2 separate regions of the Homo sapiens genome follow, and region 1 is linked to region 2. Evidence: promoter capture Hi-C in human tissues and cell types (Jung and others, 2019). All regions are on one chromosome and are shown on one strand. The core of a region is centred on a gene start or on the middle of the fragment in contact, and the rest is flanking DNA. Distances in the headings are between cores, read along the strand shown. Region 1 has its middle 19 kb from the start of MYLK3. Region 2 holds the start of C16orf87 (chromosome 16 open reading frame 87).

Region 1 (5,345 bases), core at 2,165-4,664, 64 kb before region 2:
AAAAAAAAAAAAAAAAATCAATAATTAGCCAGGTGTGGTGGTGGGTGCCTGTAGTCCCAGCTACTTGGAAGGGTGAGGCAGGAGGATCATTTGAGCCCAGGAGTTGAGGCTGCAGTGCTCTATGATCACGCCACTGCACTCCAGCCTGGGTAATAGCATGAGACCCTGTCTCAAACAAAAAAAAAAAAAAAAAAAGGAAATTGGAGGTGAAGATTTTTGGGTGAATTTCCTGCCAGTTGGTCAGTAAATACCATGTATTGTCACTTTTAACTAATTTCAACTTCTTTGCCTCTAAAGTGCCCTGTGGACCTTACTGGATAACCAAGCACATCACATGAACTAAAGTTGGGTTTGCTGAGTGGCCCATGTGCTCCCCAAAAACCCATGTGTGCTCCTATCAGAGCCAATTAGTGATCACAATACCTCATCTCGGTTGAGCATATATTCATGCCAGGCCTCCTGCCAAGCATTTTAAATTCCTTAGTTTTAAAAAATACTAGGCTGGATGTGGTGGCTCATGCTTGTAATCCCAGCACTTTGGGAGGCCGCAGTGGGCGGATCACTTAAAGTCAGGAGTTCGAGACCAGCCTGGCCAACATGGCAAAACCCTGTCTCTACTAAAAATACAAAAATTGGCCGGGCGTGGTGGCGCATGCCTGTAATCCTAGCTAGTCAGGAGGCTGAGGCAAGGCTGAGAATCGCTTGAACCCGGGAGGTAGAGGAAGCAGTGAACCAAGATTGTGCCATTGTACTCCAGCCTGGGTGACAGAGAGAGACCCTGAAAAAAAAAAAAACTAGGTATGTATCATTAATATCCTTGTTTTACAGATAAGGAAACTGAGGCCTAGAGAGACCACACAGTCACTGTATTAGTTTCTTATGCCTGCTCTAATTACCACAAACTTAGTGGCTCAAAAGAAATTTATTCCTTCATAGTTCAGGAACTATGCTGACTAATGCGTGCTCTAGAGGCCTCGGAGGAGAGCCCATTCCTTGTATCTTCCAGTTGCTGGCAGCCACTGGCTTTCGTGGTTTGTGGCTGCATCGTTCCGGTCTCTGCCTCCAGGACCACACATCCTCCTCTGTGTATGTCACACCTCCCTGTGCCTCCCTTTCATATTAATACACGTGATTGCATCGAGGCCCCCCTGGCTAATCCAGGACAGTCTCCCAATCTCAAGATCCTGAACTTAATCACATCTGCAAGGTCCTTTTTTTGATTTGTAAAGTGACATTCACAGGTTCCAGGGATTAACATAGGAACATCTTTTTTGGGGGGGCCATTATCTAGTCTACCACAGTCACCCATCCTGTTACTATCAGGTGGTGGCTGCAGGTCTCCCTTCTCACGTGCTCAAGAGGGCTCATTAAGCCAGATGGGGTGGCTCACGCCTGTAATCCCAGCACTCTGGGAGGCTGAGGCAGGAGGATCGTTTGAGGCCAGGAGTTCAGAGCCAGTCTGGGCACCACAGGGAGACCCTGTCTCTACACAAAATTTTAAAATTAGCTGGGTATAGTGGTGCATGCCCGGAGCTAGTTACTCTGGAGGCTGAAGCAGGAGGATCACTTGGGCCCACGAGTTTGAGGATGCCATGAGCTATGATTGCACCACTGCACTCCAACCTGGGCAACAGAGTGAGACTCTGTTGAAAGAATGAAAGAACCAAAGAATGAAAGGAAGGAAGGAGAGAGAGAGAGAGAGAGAGAGGGAGGGAGGGAGGGAGGGAGAGAGGGAGGGAGGGAGGGAGGGAGGGAGGGAGAGAGGGAGTGAGGGAGGGAGGGAGGGAGAGAGAGAGAGAGAGAGAAAGAAAGAGAAGGAAAGAGAAAGAAAGAAAGAAAGAAAGAAAGAAAGAAAGAAAGAAAGAAAGAAAGAAAGAAAGAAAGGAAAAAAGAAAGAAAGAAGGAAGGAAGGAAGGAAAGAAAGAAAGAAAGAAAGAAGAAAGAAAGGAAGGAAGGAAGGAAGGAAGAAAGAAAGAGAGAGAGAGTTGGTTAGTGGTGAACGTGTAGCACAGAGGCTAAAAGTCCAGGCTTTGGCACCAGGCAGACTGGGTCTGAAGCCCAGCTCTCTCAGGAATCTGAAGCACTGTGTGACTTAAGCAAGTGACCCAACTGCTCTGGGCCTCAGTTTCCCCATCAAGGCCTACTGCATGGGAATATTTTGAGGATTAAGTGAGAAAATGAATGTGAAACTCATACAACAGTGCCTGCACATAGTCAGGTGCCCCCTTAGTGGTAGCTGCTCTTGTTAAGAGCAGGATATAAGCTGGAGTTCTGACCCAGCCTTGCAAAGGGACACCTGGTGAGTACCAAGTTTCTGCAGATTAAAAAAATGTGAAAATGGGAAGTAAAGTCATTCTGCCACACAGCCAGTGAAATTCAATGCTAATCTCAGCATAGCAGAACTCTGAAAATCTTTTGGTGTGGAATGGTAGAAAAGACCTGCCAGAACTGGCCATGTAAAGGATTTGTGCTCTTTCAAAAGTGAAGACCTCGGCCAGGCGCAGTGGCTCATGCCTGTAATACCAAGCACTTTGGAAGGCTGAGGCAGGAGGATTACTTCAGCCCAGGATTTCAAGACCAGTCTGGGAGACATGGTGAGACCCCATTGCTACAAAAAATAAAAAAAAAGTTAGGCAGGCATGGTGGCATGTCCCGTGCCTATGGTCCCAACTACTCAGGAGGCTGAGGTGACAGGATCACTTGAGCCCAGGAGGTCGAGGCTGCAATGACTTGTGATCACACCACTACACTCCAGCCTGGGCAACAGAGCAAGACCCTGCCTCAAAAAAATAAATAAAAAGAGAGAGGAGACTTCTCCCTTTCTCCAGGGAAGGTGTGGATCTAGATCCTGAAAATGTGTGGTTTTGTCTATAGATGTTCTCTTCAGTTTGTTTTTTTGTTTCTGTTTTTGTTGTTTTCTGTTGTTGGTGTTGGTGGTTTTTTTGAGACAGGGTCTCACTCTGTTACCCAGGCTGGAGTGCAGTGGCACAACCACAGCTTACTGCAGCCTCAACTGCCCAAGCTCAAGGAATCCTCCCACCTTAGCCTCCTGAGTAGCTAGAACTACAAGTGTGCGCCACCATGCCCAGCTAATATTTTTATTTTTAAAATTTTTGTAGAGATGGGATCTCGCTTTGTTACCAGGGCTGGACTCAAACTCCTGGGCTCAAGGAATCCTCCCACCTCAGCCTCCCAAAATGCTGGCATTACAGGAATGAGCCATCGTGCCAGGCCCATGTTCTCATTGCTTTAAATGGGATTTGACTGGAAATTTACATTGTGATAGTCCCTTTGAGGTTAAACTGATTCCAGTTTCAAGACCTATAACAAAAAGAACAACTGATAAATCAAGAACTTAAGAGTGTGGAGAATAAGAAAAATAGGCATAAAATAGTAGGAAACAAACAGTAGGGGAGAAACAAGGACATTTTAAACTTGGGCACTTGTTATAAATATATTTGACAGAAGAAAAGCAAACTGGCTTGTCTCCTTAACTCGGAGCAAAATAAATTTGATTTGATTCTGCTTCATTCACGAACTGGGATAGAATAACACGCTTTATTAAAGAAGTTTTAGTATTTTATTTGGCTGATGTTGAAACTGCACTTCTAAGTTTTACCATATTTATGTATGATCTGCTCGACTTGTTGTATTTCATCCAATTAGGTTTTTCCATTCAACACACCGGGCTTCTTTACAGATATGACCAGGATTTCTTAATTTCAGTGAGAAACATGCTAAGAGTCAATGAAACAAGAAAGCAACAGATTCTGCCTTTTTAGAAAAACTGTAAACTACTTAAATGTCAACCAGTAGGGGAAAGAATGATAGCTCTACATGTACCGACATGGAAAGCCACCCAAGGCATATGACCGAGTTAAAAAAAAATCACAAAATAACATATACAATTTAATCCTGTCTAAATTGAGAAGAGACTGATAATCAGACAGATGAACATGGATACGTAAATCCATTAATAATGGTTGGCAAAGATATACACCCAATTATTAACAGCAGCCACTTCCTGGGAAAAGAGCAGAACTGGGGTGGGGAAATAAAGGGAAAAGCCATCTTGTATCTGCATTTTTACAAGAAACATGTGTTTTTTAGTTTTTTTTTTCTTCCCTTCTTTTTTTTTAAGACAGTGTCTCACTCTGTTGCCAGACTGGAGTGCAGTGGCGCGATCTCACCTCACTGCAACCTCCACCTCCCAGGTTCAAGCGATTCTCCTGCCTCAGCCTCCCAAATAGCTGGGACCACAGGCGCGCGCCACCATGCCCAGTAAATTTTTGTATTTTTAGTAGAGATGGGGTTTCACCATGCTGGCCAGGATGGTCTCGATCTCTTGACCTCGTGATCCCCCTGCCTCAGCCTCCCAAAGTGGGATTACAGGCGTGAGCCACTGTGCTCGGCCTAAGAAGCATGTTTTTGTATATTACATATATATCTTTTAAAGCAATACATTATTTACTTCAATGGAAATAATATGTTAATTTACAGTTCTTTTACTAGAGATACTACCCATGGGATAACAAATACTAAACGTGCATGTGGGATTTTTTTTTCATTTTTCATTAATAAACCAGACAGGATGTCTCTGCCTTGACTCTTCAGATTGATGGACAAGAAGTCCAATAAGGAATAAGCTCATACCCTGAGGACAGGGTAAGTGGGTACCACACAGGGATGAGAGTCCCTACACCCTGGAAGCTGAGGTCAGTTGGGAGAGGGTTAACAGACAAACAGCAGGCGGCAGGGAAGTGCTGCCAGGAGGCCTGTGAGCCGGGAAAGCTCTAGGGTGGATCAACTGTACCCACCTGCTTCTCTCTCTCCTCCCCCACCTTCCCCCATCCCCAGGCCCTCAGTCCAAGCAGCTGGCATCTACCCTCAGGCAAAAGTAAACAAACAAGTCCTTGACAGCTCTTTAAAGCAATTAAGTATTGGTCGGGCGGTGGCTAACGCCTGTAATCCCAGCACTTTGGGAGGCCGAGACGGGCGGATCACGAGGTCAAGAGATGGAGACCATCCTGGCTAACATGGTGAAACCATGTTACTCTACTAAAAATACAAAAAAAAATTACCTGGGCGTGGTGTCGGGCGCCTGTAGTCCCAGCTACTTGGGAGGCTGAGGCAGAAGAATGGCGTGAACCTGGAGGTGGAGCTTGCAGTGAGCCGAGATCTCGCCACTGCACTCCAGCCTGGGCGACAGAGCAAGACTCGGTCTCAAAAAAAAAAAAAAAGGGAAAGAAAAAGAAAAAAGAAATTAAGCAATCCATATTGGAGAATCAAAGGCTTTTATTCATCACCTTGGTACACTAAAGTCCTCATTCTGGGCAATCAAGTGA
Region 2 (5,820 bases), core at 1,809-4,308:
GTTTCACCGTGTTAGCCAGGATGGTCTGGAACTTCTGACCTCGTGATCCACCTGCCTCGGCCTCCCAAAGTACTGGGATTACAGGTGTGAGCCACTGCACACAGCCATTTAACTGATTTTTTAAAAGCTCCAAAATAATTACATTACAGAAAACTCATTTATATTCTTTACTACTGAAAGAACCAAAGGAACTTATACCAGACATATTTTATATACATCACATAAAATGTCCTTTAAATTAAAAAAAAGCTGCTCTATTTTTTTTAAAAATGAAGGCAAAAACAGAAGCATACACAAAAGATACCAGAAAACTGACAAGAATCTTGAGCACTGATGCACACAAAATGGCTCAGTAATTTTGAGTGATTGATGGATATGAAACCCCTTGAAAATGAAAAGGACTGTGGTTTAAGATGTTTTAGAATGATATGTTCAATAGAAGCCTGCAAAGGAGATGTTACAAAGCAGTTGAAAATCTAGCTTTTTCTTCTTTGCTGATCTCTGTACCCATTTTTCAAACTTACACACCCACATAAGTAAATCTAGTCAACTGGGAAATCTCAAATTTAAAGATTTTACATTTATGTTTATAAACTATACCTAAATTCGAATTTAATTTTTTTTAGGCAACTTAGAATCATAGCAGTATTCTAATGTTTAGAAAATGGCTTTCTGGATTATAATCATATTCTGGCTTATAACTAAAAGAAGCTAGTACTTTTAAATAATGAGAAAGCTAAAATTCATCCATTATTTTTTCACATCAGGTTCATATCACCAAAAGTTTTAATTAGTCCTTATGTATGTTACATTCACTTAAGTATTTGGAATAAAGGACAAAACAAACCAACTCATTAAATTATGTACTAGTTTGCTCTGGGTGGAATTATGCACCCCTCGACATCCAAATTCATATATTGAAGCCTTAACCGCAATGTGATGGTATTTGGAGATGGGCCATTTGAGAGAGAATTAGGTTTAAATTAAGTCATGAGGGTGGGGCCCTCATGATGTGATTAGGGACCTTTTAAGAAAAGGGAGAGAGCTTGACCCTCTTTCTGCCATGTGAGGACACCAAGAAGACAGCCATCTGCAAGCCAAGAAGAGAGCCCTCACCAGAACATAATCATGCTTTTGTTATGGCAGCCAAAGCTGGGTAAGCTGATTTTATATGAAAGAATAAATATGGGGGAGGGGGTGTATAACAAAATGAATGTGATCTTTCCAAATAAAACGCTGATCTTGTTTTGTTGAACAGTTTTTCAGAAACTCCTATAAGTTTATTATCCTTTGCTCTTTTATATAAAAATAGCCATAAAAAGTGGCTATTTTTCCCAAAAGGTTGCTTTATGCCAATTAGAACAAAGTCAGGATTTGCAAATACTTGTGCCTTACAGAAATTGGAATGCATAACGCATACCATGTAAACCTTACACTTCTACACAATTAACTGGAATAATTGGAAATGATTTAAACACTGAAATAATCTCCCGCAAAGAGTCATATTGCAAAGTCCAGTTTTGTCAAAATTTAACAAATTTAGTTCAGTAGTAAGAATGAAAGTAACTCTTTGGAAAACATGACTAAACTGTTTTTATACTGCATACTGGTATAGCTCCTACACTGTATTTCTTGCACAACCTTTTTCTGATAAGCATTTTTACTACAGCCCATAAAGGATACTTAATAAAACATGTAACATGTTTTCTGTTAAAAGATTTGAAAAACCTACAAGAATTCTCCTTGAAAAATGCACTAAAATCAGCTTATTAAAAAGTCTCCAGCCATTTCAAATTACTCTTGATTTAAAAAAAAAAAAAGGCGGTGGGGGGAGGGGAGGAGAGAAAGGTAGTCATTTTGAAAAAATCCACTCAGTGGAAAAGGAAAAAACACACCCAGATCTACATGTTGGTAACAAACGAGGGCCTTACGAATGGTTTTAACTGAAGTAGTTTTAACTCATTAGATGTTAAGGCTTAAAGGAATGTCTATTATTCCAGTAAAGAATTGAGACACGCTTCAACACAGCGATCACTGAAATGAGATGTTTTAAATTACAACTATTACACCATGAACTCAATGTAGAAAGGAATCGTTTCAAATTCAAGAAACGAGATAGAGAGATAGAGAGATAGAGAGAGACAGACAGAGAGAGAGAGAGAGAGAGAGAGAGAGAGAGAGAGAGAGACACACAGAGACATTCAGACAGACAGGGATACAGATCTGGAAGCAGACAGGCCAAATTTGTAACAGTGGATACTGCGAGGGGTGGGGAAGTTAGGAGCGCCCAAAAAGGAGGAAGGGCTTAAACAGGGGCTTTATTCAATCATGACCCATTAAAAACGATGTAAAGGCAGGATTCGCGATTGCACAGCAAAAATATAATAAATAGATGAGGAAGGGGAAAAAATCTCCAAATTCGCCGAAACTCAAAATCATTACACGCGGCCCCCTTTGTCCCACTCAGGCGCCCGCCCCGGTCGCGGAGGGGCCGTTTTGGGGAAGCCCCGCACCCGTCGGAACCGGGAACAAAGCCGCCCCGGCCGCAGGAGGGGTTCTCGGAGCTAGGGCCTGGCCTCGGAGGCGGGCGTGCGGCACACTCTCGCCGGGGCTGCGGCCCGCAGGCTCCCACCGCTGTCACCGCCGCCGGCGAGGAGAGTCTGGGGCTCCAGACAGCCGCCCGGTGAGCCCACCAAAGGCGCGCTCCTCCAGTGGCCGGGACACAGCAAGAAGGGGCTTGGCCGTCTGGCCGCCGCCAGGTGGACGCTGGCGGGCCACGGCCCCGGGCTTTTCCCGGGAAACCCCTCGGTGCAGCCCGACCGGCCCCGGATCCCCGCCGCCGCCGGCGGGCCCCAGGATCTGCCCACCGCTCGGCCTCCGGGAGCCCGGCGAGGCCCCCCTCCACAGACAACGGCCGCCAAGCCACTGCCGCCCGCCCGCGCGCCCGGCCCCCGGCACCCACCTGTTGGTCGCACTCGGGGCATGATTTGGTGGCCATCTTCACTTTCTTGGCTCGAGTTGCAGACATGCTCCTCTCCCTTAGCGGCGGCAGCAGCGACGGCTCGGGCTCCTCCCCTCACACTTCGGCAGCCCGGCCTCCGCCCGCCCAGTCCCCGCGGGCCTCAAACAAGCCTCTGGCGGGTGCGCGCGCGCGCGTGCGCGAGCTCGCGCGGGACCTGGGCGCCAAGGGGGCGGGGCGGAGCGTCGGCCGGCGGCTCCTGGGGACCGCGACACGCGCTCCCACGGCGGCTCGCGACCCACAGCCCGCCCGCGAGCTCGCCCAGAGTATCACGAGACGAGGGGAGACCTCCCCCCCCTCCGCCAGACCGCCCCGGCGCGGCAGTGGCCACGCCTCCTCTCGGCCTGGCCGACTACGAGGGGGCAAGGCCTGGGCGGGACTCGGCAGTAACGGGCGTCGAGTTCGACCAACGAATGCATAGGTAGGGCGGGCCGTAGTGCTGGGCACGCCCCATCCCCACAGAGACCGTGGGAGCGAAGGCTGGGGAATGAATGGTGAAGGGCGTAGCGTGGATCCTGGCATTTAATAAACTTAAGTAGATGTTACCAAGGCTAATCATTGAGAAATTATGATAGACATTTTATGAGACCACTGGACCCAGCAGCAGAGTGAAAATTCATTTATTTATTCAATATATAATTGCCTAAGTCCCACTGTCAGGAAAATTTGAATAAAATGCAGTGTCAGCCTTCAAGGAGCAGCCTAGCTGTGTAAACCAGTGCTACTCACTATCAAGATGAGGGATCAGATGTTTTTCTTTTTCCAATCTGTCCGTGACTGATACTTACTAAATTAACATTAAAATTAAATTATTCGAGGCTGGGCGCAATGGCTCACGCCTGTAATCCCAGCACTTTGGGAAGCCGAGGAGGGCGGATCTCTTGAGCCCAGGAGTTCCAGACCACCCTGGGCAACATAGCGAGACCCCCATCTCTACAAAAAGTAAAAGATTTTTAAAAATTAGCTGAGCGTGGTGGCCCATGCCTGGAGTCCTAGCTAGTAGAGAGGCTGAGGTGGGAGGATCGCTTGAGCCTATGAGATTGAGGCTTCAGTGAGCCGAGATTGTGGCCACTGCACTCCAGCCTGGGCGACAGAGCGAGACTCCGTCTCAAAAAAAAGAAAAAGAAAGAAAAAGTGAAATTTAAAAACAACTATGCAAAACGTAAGCTTACTTTTAAATATTTAATTTGACAGACCCAAAGTTATACTTAATAAACAATCAGAACAAACATAACAGAAAGAAAATTTACAAACTGTACACTTGGCTCAGAGAAAATTTACCAATATGCATTTATTACAGAGACTGGCTATTCCACTGATAACTTTTTATTCAACAATTGTTAACTAAAGCAAAGTTATGAGTTACAATTTTACATAGTAAATGCCTGTAAGCACACTTTGTATAAATAACAGTTATATAAATGTTTAAAGCTTTTAATATGAAACCCACGAAATTGCTTCCTGTTTGGTCCATTTACAGGCATACCTTGGAGGGACTGGGGGTTCAGTTCCAGGCCATTGCAAAAAAGAGAGCCACACTCAATTTTTTGTTGTTGTTTCCCAGTGTATATAATAAACATGTTTCCACTATACTGTAATATATTAAAAGTACAATAGCATTATGTCTAAAAAACAGTGTACACACGTTGATGTTAAAATTGGGCTAAAAATCCTGGGCAAAATGGTGAAACCCGTCTCCACAAAAAATTAAAAAATAGCCATGTGGTGACAGCGTATGCCTGTAGTCCCAGCTACTCAAGAGGTTGAGTTGGAGGATCCACTGAGCCCAGGAGGTCAAGGCTGCAGTGAACCATGATTGCGCCATTGCACTTCAGCCTGGGTGACAGAGAAAATCCCTGTCTCAAAAAAAAAAAAAAAAAAAAAAAGGAGTTAATCTTCACAAACCCTGCCACTGCTTTATCAACTAATATTTATGTAATATTCTAAATCCTTTGTTGCCATTCCACTATGTTCACAGAATCTTCCCCAGGAGATTCCATCTCAAAAAACCACTTTCTTTGCTCCTTCGTAAGAAGTAACTCCTCATCTGTTCAAGTTTTATCATGAGATTGCAACATTAATCCCAGCACTTTGGGAGGCTGAGACAGGAGGATTGCTTGAGCTCAAGAGTTCAAGACCAACCTGGGCAACATAGTGAAACCTCATCTTCACAAAAAAATACAAATCTTAGCTGGGCATGATGTGCACCTGTAGTTCCAGCTACTTGGGAGGCTGAGGTGGGAGGAATGCTTGAGCCCAGCAGGTCGAGGCTGTAGTGAACCACAATCGTGCCACTGCACTCCAGCCTGGACAACAGAGTGAGACCCTGCTGTGTGTCCCGCATTTGCAATTACATCCTCCACTGAAGTCTTGAACCCCTCAAAGTCATCCATGAGGATTGTAATCAACTCCTCCCAAGCTCCTGTTAATGTTTATATTTTGACTTGCTTCCATGAGTCATGAATGTTCTTAGTACTATCTAAAATGGTAAATCATTTCCAGAAGGTTTTCAATTGACTTTGCCCAGATCCATCAGAGGAATTGCTATCTATGGCAGCAATAGCCTTACAAAATGTATTTCTGAAATAATAAGACTTGAAAGTCGAAATTACTCCTTAATCCATAGGTTACAGAATGGATTAGCAGGCATGAAAATAACATTAATTTCTTAAACCTCCATCAGAGCCCTTAGGTAACCAGGTGCATTGTCAATGAGTAATAATATTTTGAAAAGAATCTTTTTTTCCAAGCAGTAGGTCTCAACAGGGGGCTTGAAATATTTAGTAGACCATGACAGATTT

What was found. Contacts are between HindIII fragments. The study calls those that stand out against the background at their distance.
Region 1: a contact is called between a fragment that was not itself captured here and the fragment with the promoter of C16orf87 in region 2, in 1 of the 25 tissues and cell types used here (lymphoblastoid cells).

Annotation. Positions count from the first base shown.
Region 1 is chr16:46,764,211-46,769,555 of GRCh38, forward strand. No RefSeq gene overlaps it. Among named protein-coding and RNA genes, the nearest start is that of MYLK3, 19 kb to the left of the region's middle. RefSeq lists an enhancer at 4,660-5,195. The HindIII fragment of the contact is 8,068 bases long and covers 1-5,345 here.
Region 2 is chr16:46,828,122-46,833,941 of GRCh38, forward strand. It overlaps C16orf87 (chromosome 16 open reading frame 87), which reads right to left and starts at 3,059. Exons shown (of 4, transcript NM_001001436.4): 1 at 2,963-3,059. The coding sequence starts at 3,028. RefSeq lists a silencer at 2,756-3,405. The HindIII fragment of the contact is 8,650 bases long and covers 1-5,820 here.